Linked DNA regions of Homo sapiens: all the other regions are linked to region 2. Evidence: promoter capture Hi-C in 16 types of primary human blood cells and fetal thymus (Javierre and others, 2016). All regions are on one chromosome and are shown on one strand. Each heading gives the region's core, a stretch centred on a gene start or on the middle of the fragment in contact. The rest is flanking DNA. Distances are from core to core; before and after follow the strand shown. Region 1 has its middle 520 kb from the start of LINC01966. Region 2 holds the start of QTMAN-AS1 (QTMAN antisense RNA 1). Region 3 has its middle 850 kb from the start of LINC01966. Region 4 overlaps TEX41 (testis expressed 41). Region 5 has its middle 540 kb from the start of LINC01966.

Region 1 (5,172 bases), core at 23-2,522, 1.5 Mb after region 2:
CTGGGCCTCTCAGCCAGCCCCTTCACAGCAGTTTGAATGTGTATACGGGCACTCATGCGCATGCACGCATGTGCACACACATACATGCACTCACGTGTGCATGAATATATGGATGTCATTGGATATCAGCAATGGATGTCAGCTGACACCCTCTGGAAGTCTAGACAATTTATTTAGATAGATATACTCCTTCTAGGCTCTGGTAGACTCTGAAGAAGAAATCCAAGTGCCTTGCCTCACTCACATCCATCAGGGGCTTCTTTACAGGCAACTAAGTGGCCAGTTCAAACACATTACCTTTCATTCAGCTATCGACTTGGATATTTACCATCTATCCCCCAGCTTTCTGCTCTCCAGCCACACAACATCATCCTATTCCTTCTCCTAAAACTTTACTTTATGTCTGCCAGACTCCCCATTTAAGAATCAACAAGCACAGCTCCAACCTCAGTCTCCCTATGCAACAGTCTCCCATGTTCTCTCATATCAGAAATCTGGTACTCCTCCAAGAAAACTCTCTACTTCTCTTGAGTAAAACCTTCTCATCCTTCTGAATTCCATGTGCATTCATGGAGTGTTCTTTCTCCCAAGGTGACCTTCAGAGCACAAAAAAGGATACAAATGTGTCGTAACCAAGGGGATCTGGGCAGAAAATCCATGTTACACACTACAGCTGTTAATCCTTTTGCTTCATGAAGTCTCTTCTCAGTCCCTTCTGCCTTTCCTCACTGAGGTGGGTTAAAGATGGCAGCACATTTCTTTGTCACTCCTCCCAACCAGAGGATTCCACATCCTCTCTATTTGAATCATGGCAGGTTCAGTGACTGCTTGACCAAAAGAATAAAGCAAAAATGATACCATGTCACTATCTGGGCTCAGGCCTTAAGAGCCCATCCACTTTCACCTCCTGCCTCTTGAGATAGGTGTTTCCGGAGCCAGCCAGCATGCTCTGAGAAAGCACAAAGCAGCTCCTTGAGGGACCCATATGGAGGAAAATTGGGCTGCTTCTTGTCAGCTCCAGCAAAGCTCCCAGGTAGCAGCCAGCACTGACTTCTCAGCACTACCTTGTAAGTGAGCTATCTTACAAGTGGATTCTTCAGTTCCAATAGATTCTCCAGGTGATGATCTGTGAAACTGATGAACTCTTTCAAACTCCAGATTTGTGAACATGTTGTTTTAAGCTGCTAACTATTGGGGTAGTATATTACACAGCGATATATAAAACCAGAATATTTGCTTACCTATCTAGCGTAAAGTGGCATATTCCATTACTTCAATTCTTACAAATAGTCCTATCTTCAAGTCTCATTCATCTTTTCCTGACCCCTCTGGAAAAAATGTTTACCATGAATCAACTCATCTGTCTGACTGCACCCTATCTACCTCATGTTGCTGATCACAACTATAATTCCACAGTTTCCAAGTTCAGATGGTCGTACATGCTGCTTAGAAATCAAGGATTTCCTTATCCACGCTCTCTTATTTTCCACAAATGTTTTAAGCCTACTCTCCTCTTCTCAATCCTTTGACTGAGAAACCTAATCCCTCTTTCAGCAGATCAACTTGACTACCAGTTCAGAGCAAAAATAGAAGCCACCAGATGGAAACTCCTCCCACACCCTGCCAATTATTCTAGCGGCTTCCCTCCCCTCTTTCCTTCATCTTTAGCTCCTTCTCCTTTTCTGTGTTCTTCCAAGTAGCACTTAACTATGGTCAAACATTTCCCATATTAAAATAAAATCCAAAGACACTTTATTCCCCCATTATCCTGCAGCCTTGATTCATAGATCTCCTAACAACCCAAACATCACCAAAGCACTCTTAGATGCACTGCTTCCATTGCTTCCCATTTTATTTCCTTTGTACCCACTCTAGCTCTTACCTTCCCCATGGCTAAAATTGATCACAGTGTGGTGGCTACATATTCCCTTATTAATGCATCCTCCAGATAACCTTTACCCCTTATTCAACTTGATTTCTCAGCAACCCTTGATTTTGTTGCCCACTACTCTTCTGAAATGTTCTGTTCCTTTGGCCACTGTTATTTATTCTCCAAATTCTTTTCCTAGCTTTCTGGGTGCTCCTTGAAGCCCTCTTTGCTGCATCTTATACCTTTCCTTGCTCATTAAACTTGGTATCATTACCAGTTATATAGAGGCAGGAAGACCTATTTCACATATTTTTACTGGATGACCTCATGTGATCACATAATTTCAAAATTCGTACTGCCAGCTGAGATGTTTTTCATGAGATCTAGGTATATATATCAATATGCCTACATACTACTAACAGATTTACCCCCAAAAAACTTGCCAGAAGAAAATATATCATCTTGAACACTAAATATACTTATTTTCCTTTTTTCTCAAGTAAATGGTAAGACCATTCTCTCAATCACTACAGAAACCCAGGCATCATTTTGACTCTTCTCTCTTCCCTCATCCTACACACCTGACCAATGACTAGTCTTATGAGTTATACATTTGAACTGTTTCTTAAATCCCTAAATTTCTTTCCATCCCCAGTTTAGTGAGGAATTACCCGTTTAAATTAATATCATAGCTTGCAAGTTGTTTCTACATTGTTACATTGTATTTCTAAAATCAAAATATGATCATGTAATTGTCTCCATTAGGAAAACTTTTCTCAGTGACTCTTCCTTTCAAGGACCTGCTTATCTCTCCTGCTTCATCCTCTAGGTCATCAGTGCTCTCTTCCCAGCATTCAAGCTGTGTTTGTCCCAGCCATGTTAATGAACCTTTACACAATTTTTCATTATATGACATGAATCACATAATATGACTAACGCTAACAATCGTGTTCCCCTTACTCACCCACCAGAGCAATCCTGGTTACCTCTTTGGCCTCAGATTAAACTTCACTTCTTCCAGGAAGCTTTTCTTAAACTCTAAAGTCCAGGTTGTACATCCATCATATGTGATCTTCTAACACATGGCTTGCCACTCCAGATAGTACTGATGACATCATCTTGCAATTTCCTACCTTATCCTCAGTAGATCCCACTAGACTGTAAGCTCTGTGAGAACAGACAGTGTGTTACTCTTGTTTTGAGTTGTATCCTCAGTGCATGGCCTAATACCTGGCACATATTCAACAAATATTTTTTAATAAATAAATGAATGACCTTCCCATTTCTTTTCTGATGTAAAAATTAAGGCCATCAGAGCAAATTAAAAGATATTACACAGTAGATTTTAGGTGTCCTTCCTCTGTCAGTAATTCAAAGCCTCATTTGATGAGGGTTGTTCTGAATGTAAAGTTTTGCACTTACACAGAGTACAGGCATTGCTAAACTTTGACCAGAGTGTGGGATCCAGGTCCCATTTTCTAACCTGTATCTCAGATTCCTAATACTTTATACACAGTCAGGGCCAGAAGACAAGCATTCTCTTTCTTACTTTTTAAAAAATGCTGTTCATGCAATAAGCTATTTTCTTTGGTATTTAAATAATTAAATATAGATTACAAATTTTTTTGGTGAATATTACACCATCTATATGAACTGTTCATCAGTTCTTTGAAACATCTCTGAGGCTGTAGTTGCTGCAGTAGCTACTTCTTGACAACTGAAATAAGTGAAAATTTGAACATTTGTTCAGTTCTGTTGATAGTCTTAATCATTGAACCTCAACACAACCCATCCACTAGAATTTGAACTCCTGGTGGACCATGACTGTTTGTTATTAATCTTTGCAATTCTAGCAAATGTAGTATTTAGTAAAAGGAGGGTAGTTAATACCTGTAAGATGTGTGCATAGTTTTAAAGCTGCTCAATTTATTGTGAAAGTAGTAAATAAAAAAGAAAAATTAAATCCATTATTTTACAATCTGCTTATATAATTCAGGCCTACTTTCTAGATATACTAGGAGTATGAAAGCTGGTTAACTTTTCTGAAAAATAGAAAGATACCATGAAGAATTAAGGAAAGATGTTTTTTCTGTTTGCAAATATATTCTATACATAAAACTTACCATTATTATTCCTGTAAAAGAAACATCATCAGAAACATAAACTCAGAGGTTGTTCAGTCTGCATTTTATTACTGTAAAGATGTCTATTCACACAACTGCCAATTGCTTTGCTTTTGATAAAGCTACTGTAATTACTTTTAATTCCAATATAAATTCCCTTTGTTGCAAGAAAACACTTAACCTTAGTTATGTTAGAAAGGCAAACAACATAAAAACTGACTATATACATATTTAAAATCATAAGCATAAAAATACTAATTAAGATAGAACATTATACCACAGCCCCTATAATAAACACAAATTAATAATCCAATCAGGAATGTGAGCACCTTCAGAAAATTATGACATGACTTATATAATTTTACAAAAAATTAAGCAAAATGATGTGGAATTTGGTTAATGACCTAGTTAATTTTTGACACCTTTGAGGATTTCTTTTCAGACTACAAAAACAAAATCTTCATCTGTTAATAAAGTAGGTTAAAAAAAATAGTTCTATACTTTGTGGTTCCCAAAACAATCAAGATATGGAGGGATTTATTTAAAAACTGTCAACCAGAAGAAACTAGAGAATACAAACAAAATTACACTGACTATTCTTTAAATAAAATTCTGAGATAAAGACAGACATGAGGCATTTCTGACAGACTCTTGGAGATTTAAAAAGAGAAAATGTAGTTACCACAGTAGTGGCTCCACTATAATGAGTGCTGTGTGGTGCTACCCACGGGACTAAGGCATTGATTTCTCCAGCTGCAAAGTGTTGGTGGCTGACAGCTCTCAGATGAGTCCCTCTTCTGGAATGGCTTTTGTTGTGACTACATCAAATTCCTCTTTTCCCTGTGCCTAGTTCTATGTCCTTCAACCCACCCCACAAGGCTGATCTAGAGAGCATCCCAGATGAACAAGCTGCACACAAATCTCAGACTCAGAATCTGTTTCCTAGAGAGCTCAACCTAGGATGGACACTCAGACTGAAAAACAAAACAAAATCAATACGTAGGCTGTGTGTTTTATAAGAGTAATACAATTATTTGAAAGTAAGAAATCTGCCTCAACCTTGTTTACACCTTGGAAGGTACCCGGCCATCTGCAGATGGATTTGCTTGCATGATTTTACTAGGTGTTCTCTATGTAGACAAAGCATTAAAGACACACCTAAGTACATACACAATCTGC
Region 2 (5,099 bases), core at 1,596-4,095:
ATGTAGCTTTTTACTGATTCTACCTTGTTAAAAAATCAATCAAGCAACCATCATTTGCTAATAAATGTTTTTATCACAGCTTTCAAACCTTTTTCAAGACATCTGAGCTCATCTTCACTTCCTCCTTCTTGAAAAAGAGACCCCATGGTGTGACACTCTAAAACCACCTCTGGATTTAAAACTATGGCTGCCTGGAATTGAAGGCCCAGTTGCTGAGATTCCCTGATTTGCAAAGCAAGGGAGAGTTCCTAACTGAATAACTTGAGTTTGTAACTAAAAACAAAAACAAAAACCTGCTCATCTATTGCAAGTAAGTATACTCCCTTTGTTACATGGTATGCAATTAGATGCCTTTGAAATAAAAGGTAAGTTAAATCAGAAGTCTCGGGGACAAGAAAATACTATTTTAAAACAGGGAGTGTCAGATGTTTTTCAATTCAGTACCAAAGGGTATTTCACAGGTAATTTCTCAGGGCTGATGTTAGCTAATTATTAGCTACCATATCCTGCCTGCCATTCTTAGTGACTATCTCCTGGCAGAAAGACACAGCTAGGAGTGTTTTGTTTCATTTGTCCTTGGAGTTTTTATCAGCATCAAGAAGGTGGACTGAGCCAAAGTTAGAAGAATTCTGGAGCTAAGCAAAAAGCGACACGTTTAACAGCCCCCATTAATTGGGGCTGTTACATGATTAATTTGAGAAAAACAGAAGAGACCGATTTCTTTACAACTCACAGTTGGATGCAACGCACTAAAAGTAATCCTGTAAATTACATTTTAAATCTCCAACATATTCCGAGCAGATAAAATAGTGGCATGATTGACCAAACTCCTTTTAAAAGTACACATATTACGATGCATCATAGTTATAAACAGATGGTATTTGGCCTCCTTCCTATTCTCAACATTTGGAATTTCTAAACTATGTGAATTAAACAATAATATTTTATAAACATACAAGGGATTTTGCTCACTGCTTTGTTAACATAGAAATTATACAATGCTGACATTTATTTAAATTTTAAAAAGTAAACAACAGTGTGCATCGAAATAAAGCAAACTAAAATCAACATAGAGAAGTATGTTCTGTGTGCGTACTACCTACAATGGCACTGGCCTTTTAAAGGGAAGACATAATGGGTTGAAGAACAAATTGTAGCATAGATCGGCCTAATCCCTTGTACTCCAAGGCTCATTTAACACCTCTCTGTAAACAACGGATATTTATACCATAATTGGCTATTTGACCATCAGTGTTCATTTACTATGTAACCTGCTATTATGGAGTTAAAAGAAGCTCCCCTTCATTGGCTCGTCAGCTTTCAGAGTAGCGAAAGTGTCCTCGCAGTTTTAAAAACACTTACACAAACGGGAATCAGTCTGACACTTGTACTCAGAATGAGAAACATTATCATGATATCAATAAGTATATATTTATTCTTTGGGGGATATTATTGCCAGAAAGAAAAGGAAATATATTAGATCTGAGTGTCATTTCCTAAGATTCTTTTCTAAAATTATAGCTTTAACCCTTTAGCCGCAGTTTGGAAGGGAGACCCATCTGCTGATTTGATGTACTAAATAGAAGGCACTTGGTTTCCAAACACTATTCTCAGATTCGCAAAGTTGCGCTGTGATGAATAAATAATGAATCAGATATTTCAATCCGTTTTATGATTTTTGAAAGCCCTGATTATCATTGTTTACAGTCTCTTCTTAATGCACTTCCCATGCGTTCTTGTTCAGCCTTCCAAGAGTTGGTTTATGTAGGCCACCCTCTCCCAACCTCGCTTTACTTTTGGACTGCTCTCACGTGTTAACCCACCCGCTCACACCTTTAAACCAGTTTGGGGAATATTTCAAATCTGAGGGGGGAAATCTTGAGCGACAGATGACAAGGAGTATTCGCAAACACTCCAGGCTAATGTTGCTTGTATTTGGTCACAGGTGTGCCCTGCTTTTGCGTACTATAATATCTCTATTGGTGAGAAAGAGGGAGAAAATTATGCTAAAACCACATGGATAGAAAGGAAAACGGCACTGCTGAAATCAGGAAGGATCAGCATTCCTTTTCTCCTATACATACGTGTGTATACTCAGATAAATAATGATAAATCACGGCAGTGTGAGGGAGGCTTTTAACAAAATACAAGCTTCAAAATAGGAATATCTTCACAAGTTTTCAAAAAGCTAATCAGAGCAAATGAGTGACAAATCAATGTAATGCTTCTAAATATTCTCCTGCCCCAATATTGCTTAACTCCTCTTCTCCACTCCTCCTAAATAACCAGTTGGTGGTGAGGAGGAGAAATGAGGTTTGTATTTCAATATACAGGTGTGAAGTGAAAAAGAAAGCGTCCGGGGGGTGAGATTTAAATCACATATCCGAACATACCAGAGACAGGAGTTATTCTAAACTGTGTAGATAAAATCCCTTTCGGAGAGTCCCCGTGCCCATCCCCACTCCCCTTCGCGGGATTGCTGAGGGCAAGTTATGTTTTTTGAAAAGGTAGTAGGCATCGGTGTTTCTGGTTTTGCTTAGTGCGTCTTCATCGTATTCCCTCGCTGAGGACTGAGCCTGGCCGACTCAGGGAACCGAGTTCAATGAAATCCTCAGACGCATAAAGCACAGGGTGCCGGCCCACCGAGCTGCGCTCCCTTCCCGGGGGTGCCCGAGAGAGAGCACGCGAGCCCGGCGCAGCCAAACCCGGGCAGGGGTGGGTCCCCACCGCGTGTGCGTGTGCCAGCCTGGGAGTGTCGGCGCGAGCGTGGCGGGTGCGTGCCGGTGTGTGTGCGTGACAGCGCGCGCGTGGCAGGGAGTTCGCGCGCCAGGGTGCGCGTGCCAGCGCGGGTGTGCGAGGGAGTGCGCGCGGGTGGGAGCGCCAGGGGCTGGCGGGGCCCGCGCCCTGGGACGAGCCCCTCGTGCTCCGGCTCTGCGCTCCCGCAGCGCCCACGCAGCCGAGAGGAGTGGGTGATGACTTCGTGACCTCAACGTCCTCCCCCGTCCCTCGACATGTTCCCGCGCCTGAAAGGTGCAGAAAACTCCCCCCACCGCTCTGGACGAGACTGAGCTAGGCGTCGAGGGCGGGCGCCGCCGCAGACCGGAGCTCGGGCTCGCTGGCCGCTCAGGCGCAGCGGTGTGGAGGGAACGGACGCGCGGCAAGGCGACCCGCTCTGGGCAACGCGGGCGCAGCTGCCCCGACGCAAGGCACTAGCTGGTCGGGGGCTCGGGCGAGCCGGGGCCGGCGTGCCGGGGCGTGCGCTCTCTCGGCAGGCGAGCGCCGGGCTCCGCGGAGGTCCCTGCGCCCACTGCCTGCTTCTCCGCCCGGCGACCCGGAGTCCCCAGGCTGCGGTGCGCCAGGCCAGACCTGACCGAGGGCGGAAGACCCGAGCGGCAGGGAGGCAGAAAGAAAAGAGGTAGCAAGCCCCAGACAAGGGATCCTTAATTACAGATAAAAGGCAAACAAAACCGTACACCACATTTTCCACGTGTCAGCTGACGGCCGCGACAAAAGGAAACAGAACGCTGGGGGGTGGGGGGGAGGCCCCTTCTTAGCTGCCCCCCACCCCTTGACAATGTGTGCAAATGTAAAATGCATTAGGTAGTAACTCTGGATAGGTGGTGCCCGGGGCCAAATTGCAGCTGCACGCTCCATCGTGTAGGACAGTTTGCTGATGCACCCAGAGGTCTGGGGAACCTCTTACAAAAAAGGGACTACAAATACTCCGCTTGAGCACATTTTGCTTCTTAAAACTTCATTACTCATACATTTTAAGTTAAAAATTTTGTGCTTAAAGTGTTGCAATTATCTTCAGTAAAATTCTAATACACACACACATACACACAATTTTGTTTTGCAGTTTTGTAGATTCCATTTTATTGGCCTGGTATCACAGCATTAGAAATACAAGGGGAAAAGCCAAGACGATGAAAGCCAGGGAACATAGCTGCAAGCACCAGAGAGCACAAGTTCCCCTCCATGGCTCTGCGGCTCAAATGGAAAAAGGAGAGATGTCTGCTTTGATTTCTTTCCTTTTAATTAATCAGGATCACAAAGCAATCTCCACCCTGTCCCTGGGATTTAAGATACTGGTTAAACTCCACCGTGTCCCGAATTCTCCACAGAAGGTGGAGGAGTGTTCAGAATCTGAAGTCCACCCGCGGACCATTAAAAACCTCTAGGTCTGTGCCCTCATTTTTAACACTCAAATTAAAGGATCACCCTGAGCCACCACGCAGTGCACTCTTCTCTATTTTCTCCCTCTTGTTGCTGGGCCGGTTTTGGAAATTAGAAGGGGTGGTCTCTTTGTTAGCAATCTGTTTACTTTCTTCTGATACAATGAAGCATCAGGTCGAAGGTGACAAGGCTTCTTTGCTTAGTCATTTTTACCCATCTCTTTGTAGATGATGTTTTTTTCCATTTTCAATTTTTTTTTTCATCAATGCCATCTCCCCAACAGCATTTCAAAAATAAAATTTCCAAGTCCTTTTTTTAAATGTGGTTCCAGTCAAATGATTTACCCACACCCCAAATAATATTATTTACATCCAGTATTAATAGCTGCATATCAGTAATTCTTAGAGATCTTCTGATCCATATTTAACAATTTAAATGATGGCTAACATTATTGCCAGGCAAATGCCTGAACCAATAGTTTGTGGACTAGTTGCCAGCCAGATGACAGCCAGGTATACACAGGGTAAGAACATAATTAAGTTTCTGCCCTAGTCTCTTCAATTGCAGAAGGCAGACAACACTCTTTCTCACCTTCCAGGGAAGTAGATTAGCAGATTAACAAAATGATGTAAATCACATAAGCTTTACATCCCCCTTCCCCTTCTAATACCTATTTAGGAACACTTTAAAATTTTTCCTTTAGGCATCTAGTCTTTCTGTGGTTTAGCCACATGCTCTCCCCTTTTTGGCTTTCTCCTTCTGTAAAATAAGTAAGGTGAAAGAGCAGATTAGGAGTTTTTCTTTTTCTTACAGCTTTCCTGTGTTTGAGTGGATCATCCTGTTGCCATCGTTTTAGTCCAGTTGTTGTTAATTCATGTTCTTACCACCCACCAAAGAATAGCACAGGATTAAGTTTATATTAA
Region 3 (5,877 bases), core at 2,725-5,224, 1.8 Mb after region 2:
CCGTGTGTGTGAGATGAATTATCCTGATGTCTGTTATAAATCCCTAACATAGCTCATGAGATCAATTAAGATGTTCAAACAGCTACAAAAAGGATGATTGAGGCAAATGGTAACATCAGGATGACCATATGGTAAGGGGAAACTAGAACTGTTTGGATGTAAAATGAGAGCCATCGGAATTCCAGTTACAAACACGCACTACACAGTGAGGAGATAGCAGAATGAGGCAGCCAAGAAAAATACTAGATGAAGAACAGTTTGCGCAGTGATAAAGACAAACTAGCTTGTGTTTTCGAGTCAATAAGCAGGTGGTAGGGACAGAGGGTGACATCATCTGTGCCTGCTCTCTTTCCCTCTTCTAGGCCAAGAGCCTCATGGTTTACTGCAGGGCCAGGTATTTGTCAGACAAGTCACTTTTGGATTTTTAAGTAATGAAAGAGGCTTGTTGGGGAGTGTTTAGCAGAGGGGAAAACTATTTCTTAAATGAGACCATCAAAGGTTGTATTTCCCTTGCTTTTCTCAGGAACAGAGCACATTAATTGTCTGGTTCTATATATGTTCTAGGACAATTTCTCTCAATGGTGCCCAGTGGGCTGTGCAATGACAAGCCATCATCACCACAGGATACAATGGCCTTTGGAAAATGTAGCTCACCTAGAAATGCGTTATCAGGTGATAACAGCTTTGCCAGCTCATGTCACCCCAGTAGTAAAGTTTAAAAGGCTTTCAATGTTGAGGTTTTCTTCAAACTGCTAAACTGTGATAGGCAATTTAGCCTAACTATTCACAGCAGTCCTAAATCTATATTTACTAATGATTTCATCATGTGTTGAAAGGAATATACTTTGAAAATCAATTAAGGATATTGAAACATAAGAGCTTAACCCAGCCCTCTAGATGGAATGTCTTTCGAAAAATACACTAATCTTTTGATTCACAAATAATGAAGGCAACGTGAATATATTTTAGCTGTCTGAGGCTAAATGAAAATCTCACACCAGAGAACACTTCATGATAAACTAAGAGAAAAACAGTAAATCTTCATAAGATGCTGAGCCAGAAAAGCACTGTGTTTAGGAACACAAGTTGTAAGGCAAGATCTGGAACTTTATATGTGACATGAGGCAAAGGACTTACCCTCTCTGTACATGGATTCGCAGATCTTCAAAATAGGTATAATTATTGAATCTCTCTTAAGTTGGTTGTGAGGATTAAATGATATAAAGCATACAATGTTCTTAATGCAATATTTGCTATATAACAAATGTTTAGTAAATATTACTCATCATTAACATTATTATGAAAATTAAACAAGTGAGAAGAGACAGGAGAGTTCTGCTTTATTGCAAGTGGAAAAATGCAAGAAAGACAGTTGCTTTCAGTATTAGTGTGCTTAAGAATCACGCAGCATGGTGTGGTGGCTCACGCCTATAATCCCAGCACTTTGGAAGGCCGAGGAAAGTGGATTGCTGGAGCCCAGAAGTTCAAGACAAGCCTGGGCAATACAGAGGAACCCTGCCTCTAATTTTTGAAGACTTTTGGGGATACTTGAATGTTTTGGAGCAAAGAGTTAATATCTTCTTGGCCTTAGAAAGATGATATTGCAAAGTATGCATTGGGACGGACAGTAACTAGAGAGAAAAACTAGTTTGGAGATCATTGTGGTTAGACAGGCAAAAGATGATGAATTTAGGTCTCCATAAAGTAGACAGACAGAAAGAGATAGATGGAAGAAACACTACAGAAAACTAAGCAACTATAAAAGGGGGTAGGAAGAAAAATTACGTTTTTGGCCTAGAAGACTTTATAAAAGATGACGTAATAATTGAAACAGAAAACCCCCAAGGAAGAAGCATTGTCAGTGTGGAGGCGGAAATGTAATTGCCAATGAATTCTGTTCACATGTCCATGGCACATCTATGCAAAAATGTTCAATAGGCAATGGGAAGTACAAATCACAAACTTAAGAAAGATTGTCTTCCAGCTGGTAAGTGTAATTTTTGCTAAACCACATAGATGTCAAACCATGGAAAGAGAAAAACACATACACACATGTGACTTTTGAGCATGGAATTTAAGCCAATAGTACATAAAAATGTGTGTTGGGGAAGAGAAATGAGGCTATGAGAGAGCGATCAGGAAGATTCTGTAATAATAATAATAAGAAGGCAGGGCTTTTGAAGCTGTGGAGGAAGTACATGCAGGATATTTGAACAGAAAGTCATCAGAAAAGAGGTCATTGTGGCCAGGTGCAGTGGCTCATACCTGTAATCCCAGCACTTTGGGAGGCAGAGGCGGATCATTTGAGGTCAGGAGTTTGAGACCAGCTCAGGCAACATGGTGAAACTCCATCTGCACTAAAAATACAAAAATATTAGCTGGGTGTGGTGGTGCAGACCTGTAATCTCAGCTACAAGGGAGGCTGAGGCAGGAGAATCACTTGAACCCGGGAGATGGAGGTTGCAGTGAGCCTGCATCACGCCACTGCACTCCAGTCTGGGTGACAGAGTGAGACTCTGTTAAAAAATAAAAGAAAATAAAAGAAAGGAAAAAGGTCATTGTGTTTGGGTATTTGGAATATTACTTGACCAATAGCAATGCAGAACTTATAACATGAATTAACTTCCTAATAACCTCAGCTTTTAATTTTTATTAAAGAAATGAATACTATTTGGGGAATATGAGAACTAATTTATTATCCTCATTGTCATAGTTATAAGTTTAAACCTTTTTTATTTTAAAAATTCCTTGAATATAATGTTCTGTATAGGACAATTCATAAACACTGCTTTCCAGTTTTCAATTTTCAGAATCATTATATTTAACAAGCACAGAAGACGTTACTGGCTTAAAAAGATGCAAGAGTTATCAATTTTGTGATTTAAACATTATGGAATGATGAGAGTAGTTGGGATAAAGTAGGGAGGGAAAAAACTGGAGCAAAGCATAGGTATGCTAATTTCCTCATTTTACATGCTTGGTAATTCAGGAGATACCATCTACAATTTTGAAAATAGTGTAAATGTATCATTTGACATTATAAAAAGGCATGTCCCACTTCAAGATGACTGAACAGATATGTTTGCTTCTCATCCTTCAGATCCAATGAAAGGCAAGGCCTAAAATACAAAAATGTGATAACCCGTAAGAGTAAAGAGAATAGGTAAGAGGTATTCATGAGTAGATGAGGGTTTTCAATTTATTCTTGGACAAGTTAAAGTGGGTAGGTCAGAAGAAGTTACAACCCAGAACATACTTTGATAAGCTTACATTTCTGTCAGAATTCCAGGAGGACTTTAAATAAAAGTTTGTAGATCTGATGAAGAACAGAAGTGAAAAGTGGAGCTGAGAAGAAGATTAGCTTAAAATCTATATAGGGAAAAATTAGTGTCTTCCTACTCTGCTATCTCTATGCAAAGAAGGAAGCAGGTTGGCTTCATCCCATAGGCAAATTATAAATGAGTAAATATATAAATAAATTTATTATTTGGGTAGTTTCAAATAACTTGGAGAGCTTTAGTGTAGGTGCTGCTTCCCCAGGACAAAGCCTTCTGCAAATTGGAATATAAGTGTTCCAGGCTGAAAGCCAGCTCCTTCCTCATCCAACTCCAAACAAAACCTGAGACTCTATTGTTACTTCCAGCCATATTTCTCTCACATGGGTGATGACTATTATGGAATTTATCTGCTTGCAAAATAGCAGAGGAAACTCACATTTCATAAATCTTAAATATAAATGGACTGTCAAGAATCTCCAGATACACACAAAAGATACAACAAAATGGAGGAGAATACAAAGAAAAATAAATAGAAAAACTGATCTTTGAAAAAAATAATTCATAACTAGGAAACAGAAAAGAGCTTTAAAAATCACGTTATGAGATATCAAAATAGTTTTTTTAAAAAAATCATATACTTAGACCAAAAATAACACCATAAGAGGCATAATTGTAGAACAGAAAGAGGTCTTTTCACAAGCTAAAGAACACATCTTCAGTTTAGAGAGGCCCACGGCATGCCCACCAAAATGAATGAAAGAAAAGATTCATACTTAGACATATTCACTTACTAAAGAAAGAAAACTTTAACTTCCAAAAAATAAATTTAAAAAATTACCAGTTTTTCAATTACAGCTTTGGATTCTAGGAGATTGTGATGCAAACTCTACAAAATTTTAAAGGGAAATTAATTTGAATATTTTATTCAGTACCCAGCAAATCTATCAGATTTTTGTGAGAGGACAGAACACTTTTAGATACGTGAAAATTGAATCTTTTCCTTTCAGGTAATTTAAACAGTTTGTTGAGCTATACTAAATTAAACAAGGAAGCATATGAAGAGATTGGAAAATATATAATGTAGGAAAGAGTAGACTTCCAGCATGTCACGCGTGTGGTAGTCCTAGAGGAAAAAAAAAGTCCAGATTGAAATAGGAAAACTGAAAAATTCATAGGAAACTTTTCACATAAGCGGAGAATATGCAAAAGCTAGAATAATTGAGAAGCTGGAACCACAAAGTTAAAGACACAAGTTAAATTAAAAGGTCACCCCACTGTGGGGGAAAATAAAAATTTTAGGGAAAGATCTATGTAAGAAAGAAGTAAAATCATTATCCAAACACCAGGTGAAATATATGGTATAATTGTGAGCAATTGTTTAAGAAAATGGAATTCACTCAACTTGGTAAGCTTGAACCATGAATATTCTCCTTGGAGAAGAAAATGGATCTATAGCAATAGAAATATATTAGTATTTCTCACTACTTCACCCAACAAGGAACATCATATGGAGTGTCAAAATAATGTAAATGATACTTAGTGACTTTAACTTTTTGGTCAATTTTTGCACACAGCACAAATGGCCTGGTTATGTTTCAAGTAACATAACTTAAATGGTAAAATCATAATAAATTTGTTGACCAAGAAAGTAGAGTAAGTATGCTATCTGGTATAACCTTAATAAATATTTGGTAGTTTGGAAATATTTTATTATAATAGAAATATAACTCTTTTGTGAATGCTGTTATTCATACATATTTATATTAAAAGAAAAGTAAGCCAATAAAATTATAAGTAACTTTGACCTCTAGGCGTCTCAGTGGCGTAAAGATCACATAAGCAGTTAATAAAAGCATATATATAGCATGTAGTTTATATGATTAATTACCCTATACACTAAACTAGCATATATTATATGATGGACTTGTAAGGATTACAAATTCTATGATTGTATATATATTCATATATATACATATATGAATGACAATATTTTGGTTTACATTTTAATAAGCACCTTGTCACATTTAATCCTCAATCTATCCATGTTATAATGCTGGAAAGATTTTACATGTGAAATCTTGCTTTTCTATATATTGTAAATCAAAGAAAATTACTGAGGTGAGTCTCAATCATTTTAGAGGTTCATTTTACCAAGGTTGAAGATGCACCAAGGAAAACGTAACAAAAAATCACAGAAACATCTGTGATTCCTGCTTTTTCCAAAGAGGATTTAAGGACTTCAATATTTAAAGAGAAAAAAGGGGGGCAGTAGGGGAAAGAGGAAAGAAAAAATATGGGGAGGGTAGATAAAAGGAGCAAGTTGTTGCATTCTTTTAAGGTTTTGATCAGCCTTCACTGAAGCCACATATTACAAATGAAAGGAGGGGGTCGAGGAATAGTCAATTATGCTCAGTGAATTTGTAGTTTTACATAAGATAAAGTAAACATAGAGTGGAGGAAGCAGTCGAACATGCATTTGTCTCAGTTGAATGGAGTAATGACTCCTAGTCCTGTCCTTGTCCCATACCTGTGAAGATAAGTTGTTAATGTATATTGTCAGGGTAAAAGTCAACAGGACTGTTTCAGGGAATCTTGGGAA
Region 4 (5,044 bases), core at 1,680-4,179, 1.1 Mb after region 2:
GGGTTTTAATGAAAAGATAATCACAAATAAGCTTGCATTTTATCAAATTCACTTTGGCTTCAATTTAGACATAGAAGCCAAGACTAGTTAACAGACTGTTGTGCTGACCCTAGAAAAAGGGGTTGGAGGCCTACTTAGGGAAGCAGTTGAACTGATCATGGAAAGTGGAAAAATTCTAAATATATTGAGAAAGGTGAATAAACAGGCTTTAATGATTGGTACAGATGTGAGGACAGGGTGAAGAGCAATACTTAGTGTTTTCAGTAGGTTGCTGACGTAGCAATTGAATACTTTCATTGAAATAGGGAGTCCAGTAGGAGGAATATATTGGTGCAGGTGTGGGAGATAGGAAATGAATTCAGTACTTTTGAGATATCCAAGTTGATATCTCATGTTGAGTATTGCATGGCATCTGTGGAGTCCACTAGAATATGAAATCCATCAGATTGATGACTCATGACATTATGGAGTTCACAAAATTATGGAATCCACTTGACTAACTTCCATAAAATGGAAAACCTTATCACTTTGCTTCTTATTCTTATCTGTGTGTGTGTGTGTGTGTGTGTGTGTGTGTATCTGTATGTGTATCCTACTGTATTAGTCCATGCTGCTATAAAGACATACATAAGACTGGGAAGGAAAAGAGGTTTACTTGGACTTACAGTTCCATATGGCTGGGGAGGCCTCAGAACCATGGCAGGAGGCAAAAGGCACTTCTTACATGGCGGCAGCAAGAGAAAATGAGAAAGATGCAAAAGCGGAAACCCCTGATAAAACCATCAGATCTCGTGAGGCTTATTCACTACCACGAGAACAGTATGGGGGACACTGGCCCCATGATTCAAATTATCTCCCACCAGGTCCCTCCCACAACACATGGGAATTCTGTGTACAATTCAAGATGATATTTCAGTGGGGACACAGCCAAACCATATCTCCTACTATATATCTGATGAATAGTTAAAATTCAATAAATATTTATATAATAAATTAATTAAAAATAGCATCAATAAAAAATCTGAAGATCAGAGGAGAGACTTAGAATGACTTTATAGATTTGGAAGTCGTTAGCATATGGATGAGATTGAGGTCAAGGGAGTAGCTGCAATAAGCACAGGTAGATAATGTGGAGTGAAATGAGAAGGGACATTAAAAAGTATCTGGGGGAGTTGCAACTTATTAGTAGATAAGGAATAGACAGAGGAAACTTAAAAGTAACTTAAGAAACAGAGGAAAATGAACCTATAAACACTACAGAAAACAAGAGCCAGAAATAAATTATATCAATCAATGTTTTTATAAGAAACAGTGGCTGAGTATCTTATACAAATATAACTTTACTGAAGAATATCCGGAGATAACAGAAATAATGAGGATATGGAGAACTAGGTTTGGAAAATGGGTATGAATAAACCAAGCTCTGGAGAACTGGATAGCATAAAAGACAATAAATGCAATGCAGAAGGAATTGGGAGAGGGTTGTCACTGCCAGTAAATGAAAATGGTCTCTAACTATCCCTACATCTGGACTTGATCAAGCTTCAAGCCCTAGGAGAAAGTATCTGATTAACTGAGCCTTGCTTACAGCACTGCACCTTGTTCTAGGGAAAAGAGAAGGTTTTGTCCCTTCAGTTTCCATAAATGAGAAGCAACTGTCACCCACCAAAACTCCATACCAATGGAGCATTCCCCAAAAGGTAAGTAGAAATGACAATAGGAGGGGGAGGGTAGAGGTTGAGTTGAACAACAACAACAAAATGACAAAGGTCTTTATGAGACAAAAGATAGAAAACTGTGGCAATCTGGTAAATACAGATAAATTTGGGTAAGAGATAAAAGCAAATACTTATTCATTGGCAGTAGCAACAAGAGGATTATCGGTAACTTAGGTAAGTGCAGTACGAGTAGAGTGCTGGAAACCAGTAGTGCTAGAAACCAGGGAAGAATAAGTTGAGGTGTGAGAGTTGAGTGAGAGAGTAGAAATAAGGTAGACAACTCTTTTAAGAATTTTAGTTTGCAGTAAAACAAAACTTAATTTGTTTTATGTTTTGGAAAATTCAGAATGGTAGGGAAAACAATTCACTCTTAGGTAGGGATTTTTTAATTCTGATGGTCAGGGTAGGAGTTTTAAAGCTTGCAGGACCATAGATGGATACATTTCTGTATCTGGGCATTTGTCTATACACTGGAATCCTTTGCTCTTTTTGTAGGACACCAATAAGTTGCAGAACTCTTTAAGTGCCTTTGCCTTTGCCTCTTAAGGTCTTGGCTAATGATTTACCACTTTAATGCCTTAATGTACAGTGCTGTTATGCTTAATGTTGGTGTCTTCATAGTTAGAACCTACTAGCGTTGGCTACTTAAGAAGAATTAAAGAAGTCCAGAGCTCCAGCTACATAATTTTGTTTCTCATAAGGATCCCAAGAACTAGGATTTCAAGCACATTGAGGACAGGAGCTATTCCTCACAGTACTGACCACAGTATTGAGCACAAAATAGTGCCCATGCTTAGGAAATACTGATTGATTAGTTTATTGATTTTTGAGAACATTGACTAAAGTGACATTTACCTACAAATTTTCACAGAAGTTATTTTTGTTTTCTTTTTTGAAGTTTCATTTGATATATTTTTTACTCCCTTTATCAGCTCCCCTATGCAAAGCTGTTATGAAAAAGCATGATAAGGTGTGCATTTTTGCACTTTAAGAATAAATTTTTAGATTGGAAACATTGAAAACAAACTGAAACCAATGAAAAGTGTATTTTACTGACTTATATCTAAAAATGGCACTGCCCAATTTAAGCTATTTTTAAAACCTGTATATTCATGCAGCTTGCATACCAAAATGAAAATTGGTGAGCTATAAACCCTTGAAAAACAGGGTTTATAATGGAAACAGTAATTGACCCTTAAGTACAACATCAAAAATACAATACTATATAATACAAAGCCCAGGGCTTGGGATCCCATCTCTGTTCTAACCTCAGACTGGCACACTAACCCAACACCACAAAGCCAACTAATAGTTATATTTTGAGATGTTTTCTTCTTACATGGCAGAGAAAATGGATAAGCGATCCAATAGCCACATGCAGCTAAGTTTCACAGAACCAGCACCCTAAATATCTTTAATAAACTCACAACTCTTTTTCAGAGCCAATACCCAGTAAAATAATTGGACTTACTTGGAAAAACAATTTATTTATTGTTTTTAAATGGAAACTCCTACTCCTGAAGTCGTGCCATGTTGCATCATGGTCTTTGGGTATGTGACATTATACCACAGGATGCGGTGAAGCTAGAATGACCAGTTGTCAGGAAAGCTCATGGAATCACGGAACATACTCAGAATATTTAGAGTTGTCTTCAACTTTGCTCTAGTTCATAGTTGGTCCAGTTTTCCCATTTTCTAAACCACAACTACCCATTTTTATCAAGAGAAAATGTGATCTAAACTAAAGAGAAAAATGCAAGTATTAAACTTGATTAATGAGATCTGAAGGGTATATTCAGATTCCGGGTTTCAATTTCAACTTGGCTCTAGGCAAAGAGGGGTGTGTGCACACATACAAAGAATCTTAGCCGATACTCTTTTGTTGTTGCTGTTATGGTGTGGAGGGGAAGGGGTTAAGGGAGTTTATTGCTAAAGAAGGAAAGTTCAGAGATTCCTTTCATTTTAAGGTTGAAATATGTGAGCATTGCCAGCTTATTTTTTTAAGAAGCTTCCAAAGAATTTGTCAGCTGAAAATAGTCAAGATTTTGCCTTCTAAAATGTCATCTATTTACACAAATCGAGCAGGACTATTTGGTGTTTCCTTCTTGGGCATTCTGTTTCTGTTGCATGTATAACTTATGAACTTGTAAAATGAGTGAAATATTATTGATTTCATTTATCTACATAAAACCTCTTCGTCTATTCTGTGACCAAGACACTAACTGAGCTTTGGAGTAAGGACCGTGGGAGAGGTTGGAACTGGGACAGAGAAGGGTATTTTCTTTGTGAGAGTGTTCAGAGGATTTTAGAAGCGATGGTGTCTTTTCTAGGATTTAGCAGTTTTGCTAATTGTAATTAAAATGTTGTCTTTGTATGGTGATATGAATAGCTAATATGCATCTTAAAATTTCAGTGCTTAAAAATAAATACAAATCAATTCTGATGTTACAACAGAGCACTTTTATGGCATTTTTCATGCCTTTCTTTAAGTACTAAGATCTGTCTCAGATAACTTCAGGATATTATGATTTCTATTATTTACTGAATGTTAGATTTTTTTAAGCGCCCCCCACACACATATTTGAACACAAATACATACCTTCTTCCCTATTTTCTCTCTTATTCCCTATGTCCTTCCTTATAATTCATTCATATACTGTATTTGCTTCATCCTAATTTCTACTCTTCGTGAATTCTGTATTTTCTTTCAAGGCTTATTACGACTACACATAAATAATTATGTAGTGGGTTACGGTTTTGAAATGTTAGCTGATACATTACCTTTTATATCCTTATACCCTTAGTTCTTCCCCTAAAATTCAGGAAAGTAATAACGTGGTAAAATGCTAAGTAAAAATTGGTAAAGTCTTAGCTTTTGAGTTTCGAAAGCCTATTTTTCTGGGGAAGTAGAAAAACTCAGGGCATAGACAAAACATTTGAAAAACTACCCAATACATTCAGAGCCAAGCTGCCTTATTGCCATTAGTTAAAACCTTCTCAGCCTGGGGAGGTGTACAGAAAGTTGGAAAATAAACATTGAAAATTTAGAATGGGTGGGTCCCTGAGAAAAGAACAAGACCCTGCGTCCTTCTCTTTGGTTAGTCCTTGATGGGTGGGAAGAAGGATGTGTAAGGGAGAGGGAAAGTGGGGCAACAGTCACCCAAAACAGGATATGTCAAAGCACCGGGTCTCACGCAGAGCCAAGGCTTCAGGCAAGGACATCAAGTGTCAAGGTCACAGCCTGAATGGGAACCTCTGAGATGTCTGGTGTCCTGGTCTTCACCCACTAGTCCACACGGGCTGCTTCTGGATCCTGCCTGGCAAAA
Region 5 (5,185 bases), core at 204-2,703, 1.5 Mb after region 2:
ATTTAAGAACAATGCTAGAACTTTAATATCCGTTCTCTTCCTGTCTGATATGCCTTTATTGTCACTGAAACAATTTAATTTTCCTTTTCATAAAGTGGGGGGACCTTAATAGTTCTTTAGTCACCTGCAGAATGCCCACCACTGTTTGCTGCCCAATTCAGGCCTTTGGTATTTTCAGCACTTCAAACAAATTTTATTATGGAATAGTTATTTCAAAACAGGTTAAAATTTAACCAGAAGAAACCCTGTTTTCCTGGAAAGCTTAAAAGTATTACTACATTTTTCTGGATGGACAGTCTAGAGAATTTAATGCAAATACCTATGACAAATGGCAGGTCTCATTCACCTTCCATTTTGAGGCAGCAACCTAGTTGCAAAAAAGATATAAAGAACCTTAAAGTGTTAAGCAATAAAATATTACTTAAATCTGTAAGTTGTGCTATGCCTTTTCCTTTATCATTTAAATTTCTCTAACTTTATTTTCTTTGTTTGATAGGCTTACTGATGTCATAAATATACTTTATAATTATAAAATATATGTTACACAAGTAGTGATTTTGTAAATATTTAGTGGTTTAGCTTAACTGAACATTAATTGAATTTTGTAGGGGCAGATTCCATTTTTCAGAAGCTTCTGATTTCTCCCTCAAGTAGGTATTAGAAAAAAATATATCTTTGAATGGTTTGCTCTTTGCATTTTGTAGTTGCTTTTGTGCCTTTTTGTGTTTAAATTTCTCAAGTTATGGGTTCCTCATGAGAGCTGACACAACATAGTAAAAGATCTAGATGGATTGGTAGTAAATTCGTGGGTAGTTTTCTTTTTAATAAAGTCTTTGTAAGGTTTGTAAATGCCTCAGGCAACTTATTCTTCTTCTTCACCCTTGTCATAAGGGCAGGTTATGAACAAAAAAGAACAAATATTTCTTACAAGAGTAGTTTATGTGTGAACAAAGCAGTGCATTTCAAGTAGCCTTTTGTTGAAAAAAAACACTTAAACTTTTTTTCTGCTTCTAGTTACTGTATATTAAAGAAAATAAAAAACCAAGACCCATAGTATACCCTTATGGGTTTATACACTTCCGAATGTTATGAAACATAGAGAAATTTAGCCACAGAATCTGAAGCAAAGTTCGCCAATGATGTCCTGGGATTTGATCATTTTCTAATATTTTATATGGTCTGAGCAAGCAGTGTACCAGTTAAAAAATAAAAGTGTGTGCTAATATTGGCATTATGGCATCTCTTCCGAAAGCATCACTCTACAGTGCCAATGATGCCTTAATATTTCCTATCTTTGAAAGAAGTTATGTGATTTCTCTTTTAAAGCTACAGCCACTTTGGCAAATTACTTGCTCCTCCTGCTCCAAATACTAACCTATAGCAACAGATGTTTCACTGGTAAATATAAAGACATAGCCATTGTATGCTGTTTTAATTATTTTAACGTCTGAAATTTTGAACTTTAAGGTATTTGTTTAAGAAGCCTTCTCTAAATTCTAACCCATCCTAGTCTGCAGCTATTCATTGACATAACAAGCTAATTATGTAAATTAAAAATAAAAATAAAATTTTAAAAAAATTCACTCATTTCCAATGGTCATAATAGGCCACAGGCCTCTGTAATTTGGTTTCAGGAATACAGAGCATCTTCCACTCAAAGGAAAGGATCAAAAAGTGTCTGGAATCCTACCATTCTATTTAATTAAACTCTTCCCATTTTGTTTCGATCTGTTTAAAAATACAAACATCCCAGAAGAAGAGGTCAAAAGCACAGGCTGGTATAATTACTCCAGTCTTTCCTATGAAATAAGAAATATGCAAAAAGGAAGATAATCTCATGTAGCATCCTGGAACAAGTGACATCAGCAAGATGGTGGATAAGAGTTTTCTGTCATGATCTCCAAAGTGCGCTGATTTTGACAATGACCCATGGACCAGAATACATTTGTAGGAATATGCAGGTTTAGCAAAGAAGATTCAGCACACCACTGAAGCAAAAATTCCACCAGCAAACACGCAAAAGAGGATAAAAATAATAGCTTTACTTTGCCCATTTTGCCACTCCTGCAAGTCTACACAGCTGAGTGCCAAGAGAGACCCCTTGGCCCATGATTTTTCTTACAGGAAAAAATGAGAGCATAATGAACTGGTGCTCAGGTCCCCCAGCGTATTAGCCTGTTTTCACACTGCTATAAAGAACTTCCCAAGACTGGGTAATTTATAAAAGAAAGAGGTTTAATTGATTCACAGTTCTGCACGGCTGGCAAGCCCTCAGAAAGCTTACAATCATGGCAGAAGGTGAAGGGAAAGCAAGGCACCTTCTTCACAAGGAGGCAGGAAGCAGAATAATTGCAGGAGGAACTACCAAACACTTATAAAAGCATCAGATCTCAAGGGAACTCACCCACTGTCATGAGAACAGTGTGAGGGAAACCACCACCGTGATTCAATTACCTCCACCTGGTCTCCCTTTTGACACGTGGGAATTAGAAAAACTACAATCCAAGATAAAACTTTGGGTGGTGACAGAGCCACACCATGTTATTCTGCCCCGGCTCATCCCAAATCTCATGTCCTCACATTTCAAAATACAATCATGCCTTTCCAACAGTTACCCCAAAGTCTTAACTTATTGCAGCATTAACTCAAAGGTCCACAGTCCAATGTCTCATTGGAGACAAGGGAAGTCTCTTCCACCTAGGAGCCTGTAAAATCAAAACAAGTTAGTTACTTCCAAGGTACAATGAGGGTGAAGGCATTGGGCAAATGTTCCCATTCCAAGTGGGAACAATTAACCAAAACAAAGGCTACAGGTCTCACACAATTCAAAATCTGGCTGGGCAGTCATTAAATCTTAAAGTTCCAAAATGATCTCCTTTGACTCTATGTCTCACATCCAGGTCATGCTGATACAAGAGGTGGGTTCCCACAGCCTTAGGAAGCTCCACTGATGTGGCTTTGCAAGGTCTGGTCCCACTCCCAGTTGCTTTCATGGACTGGCATTGATTGTCTGCAGCTTTTCCAGGAAAACTGTGCAAGTTGTTGGTGGATCTACCTTTCTGGGGTCTGGAGGATGGTGGCCTTCTTTTGACAACTCCACTAGGAAGTGCCCCAGTGGGGACTTGTATGTGTCTCCAACCCCACATTTCCTTTACACACTGCCCTAGCAGAGGTTCTCCATGAAGGCTCTACCCTTGCAGCAAACTTATGCCTGAACATCCAGGCATTTCCACACATCCTCTGAAATCCAGGTGGAGGTTCCCAGACCTCAGTTCTTCACTTCTGTGTACCCACAAGCCCAAAACCATGTGTAAGCCACCAAGGCTTGAGGCTTTAACCCTCTGAATCAAAGGCTTCAGCTGCATGTTGGCCTCTTTTAGCTGTAGCTGGGACACAGAGCACCAAGTCCCAAGACTGTGAAGCAGCAAGGCCCTGGGCCCAGCCCATGAAACCATGTCTCTCTTCTAGGCCTCTGGGCCTGTGATGGGAGGAGCTGCTGGTGGTAAGACCTCTGGCATGCCTTGGAGACATTTTCCCCCATAGTCGTGGTAATTAACATTTGGCTGCTCAATACTTATGTAAATTTCTGCAGCAGGCTTTAATTTCTCCCCAGAAAATGGGTTTTTCTTTTCAATCACATCATCAGGCTGCAAATTTTCCAAACTTTTATGCCATGCTTCCCTTTTAAACATAAGTTCCAATTTCAAGCCATCTCTTTGTGAATGCATAAAACCAAACATTTTTAAGAGCACCCAGGTCACATGTTGAGCACTTTGCTATTTAGAAATTTCTTCTACCAGATACCCTAAATCATCTCTCTCAAGTTGAATGTTCCACAGATCTCTAAGACAGGGCCAAAATGCTGCCAGTCTCTTTGCTAAAGCATAGCAAGAGTCACCTTTGCTCCAGTTCCCAAGAAGTTCCTCACCTCCATCTGAGACCATCTCAGTGTGGACTTCGTTGTCCATATCACTATCAGCATTTTGGTCAAAACCATTCAACAAGTCTCTAGGAAGTTCCAAACTTTCCCATATATTTGTATCTTCTTCTGATCTCTCCAAACTGTTCCAACCTCTGCCCATTATCCAGTTCTAAAGTCACTTCCACATTTTCAGGTATCTTTATAGCAATGACCCACTCCCAGTACCAATTTACTATATTAGTTCATTTTCACACTGGTATAAAGAACTGCCCAAGACCGGAAAATTTATAAAGGAAAGAAGTTTAATTGAATCACCATTCTCCATGGCTGGGGAGGCTTCAGGAAATTTACAATCATGGTGGAAGGCAAAAGGTAAGCAAGGAACCATCTTCACAAGGTGACAGGAAGGAGAATGAGCACGGGAGGAACCACCAATCACTTATAAAACCATCAGATTTTGTGAGAACTCATTGTTATGAGAACAGTATAGGGGAAACCAACTCCATGATTCAATTGCCTCCACCTGGTCTCTCCCTTGACATATGGGGATTATGAAGATTATGGGGATTACAATTCAAGATGAGATTTTGGGGTGGGAGACAGCCAAACCATATCACCCATCTATGTGGGAAGCTGCCTAAGAGGCTCACTTCTTTCTTTTACCACCAAGAATATTGTGGGTATTAACACAGCTAAATGTCTAGGAGAGGCTGAGAGCAGGGAAGAGAGTCAGATTTTTATAGCAGCCAAAATTTGAAACTCAATAGAGGACTACATATACTGCTAACCTCTTCTTAGACTTCATCAGAGGTCCAACCATGAGTCACATGGGACTCCTTGTCTGTGGGCTCCAGCCAACTGGCCTGTGGGTTCCCCCAGCATTCCAAGGGCCTTATCCACAACCCTCTACCATCCCATGGCTGGCTCTCCACATCCACATGTGCACCCTAGATGGTGAGTACAAGCCTTTGTAGACAGATAGTGAGCCTGTGCAGACAATTAGCTAGATTCAGTGGGATTGGGAAAAGGCATACAAACTTTATCATTTCAGGTCACCACCCGAGGCAAAATGAACAGAAGACTGTCAGCACACAGCCTTGTTTTGGGATATTGAGAGAAGGCATATAATTTTAAGAATCCCACCCAAGAGGGAACAAAAAAGGTAGAGTGGACAAATATATAGAAAGCACTGAGAGAGTCTCAGATTCTTTAGCCATGTTGAGTGGTAAAGGTGTTTCTTTTCTGAGCCAATCAGTAAAGACT

The links. The method cuts DNA at HindIII sites, captures the fragments that hold promoters and counts their contacts. A CHiCAGO score of 5 or more calls a contact.
Region 1: a contact is called between a fragment that was not itself captured here and the fragment with the promoter of QTMAN-AS1 in region 2, in 1 of 17 cell types (neutrophils). The highest score is 6.6, in neutrophils.
Region 3: a contact is called between a fragment that was not itself captured here and the fragment with the promoter of QTMAN-AS1 in region 2, in 1 of 17 cell types (neutrophils). The highest score is 5.6, in neutrophils.
Region 4: a fragment that was not itself captured here is called in contact with the fragment with the promoter of QTMAN-AS1 in region 2 in 1 of 17 cell types (neutrophils); the score reaches 7.5 in neutrophils.
Region 5: a contact is called between a fragment that was not itself captured here and the fragment with the promoter of QTMAN-AS1 in region 2, in 1 of 17 cell types (neutrophils). The highest score is 6.3, in neutrophils.

What each region holds. Positions count from the first base shown.
Region 1 is chr2:145,400,111-145,405,282 of GRCh38, forward strand. No RefSeq gene overlaps it. Among named protein-coding and RNA genes, the nearest start is that of LINC01966, 520 kb to the left of the region's middle. The HindIII fragment of the contact is 3,241 bases long and covers 1-2,893 here.
Region 2 is chr2:143,934,222-143,939,320 of GRCh38, forward strand. It overlaps QTMAN-AS1 (QTMAN antisense RNA 1), which reads left to right and starts at 2,846. Exons shown (of 3, transcript NR_110237.1): 1 at 2,846-3,415. QTMAN (queuosine-tRNA mannosyltransferase) reads right to left here. Exons shown (of 12, transcript NM_001376312.2): 12 at 3,847-5,099. RefSeq lists an enhancer at 2,270-2,953 and a silencer at 3,148-3,347. The HindIII fragment of the contact is 2,667 bases long and covers 2,150-4,816 here.
Region 3 is chr2:145,729,869-145,735,745 of GRCh38, forward strand. No RefSeq gene overlaps it. Among named protein-coding and RNA genes, the nearest start is that of LINC01966, 850 kb to the left of the region's middle. The HindIII fragment of the contact is 1,423 bases long and covers 3,264-4,686 here.
Region 4 is chr2:145,033,186-145,038,229 of GRCh38, forward strand. All of the region lies in intron 3 of TEX41 (testis expressed 41), which reads left to right. The region is part of intron 3 of LOC100505498 (a long non-coding RNA gene); the gene reads left to right. Among named protein-coding and RNA genes, the nearest start is that of LINC01966, 150 kb to the left of the region's middle. The HindIII fragment of the contact is 1,590 bases long and covers 2,135-3,724 here.
Region 5 is chr2:145,417,236-145,422,420 of GRCh38, forward strand. No RefSeq gene overlaps it. Among named protein-coding and RNA genes, the nearest start is that of LINC01966, 540 kb to the left of the region's middle. The HindIII fragment of the contact is 1,648 bases long and covers 630-2,277 here.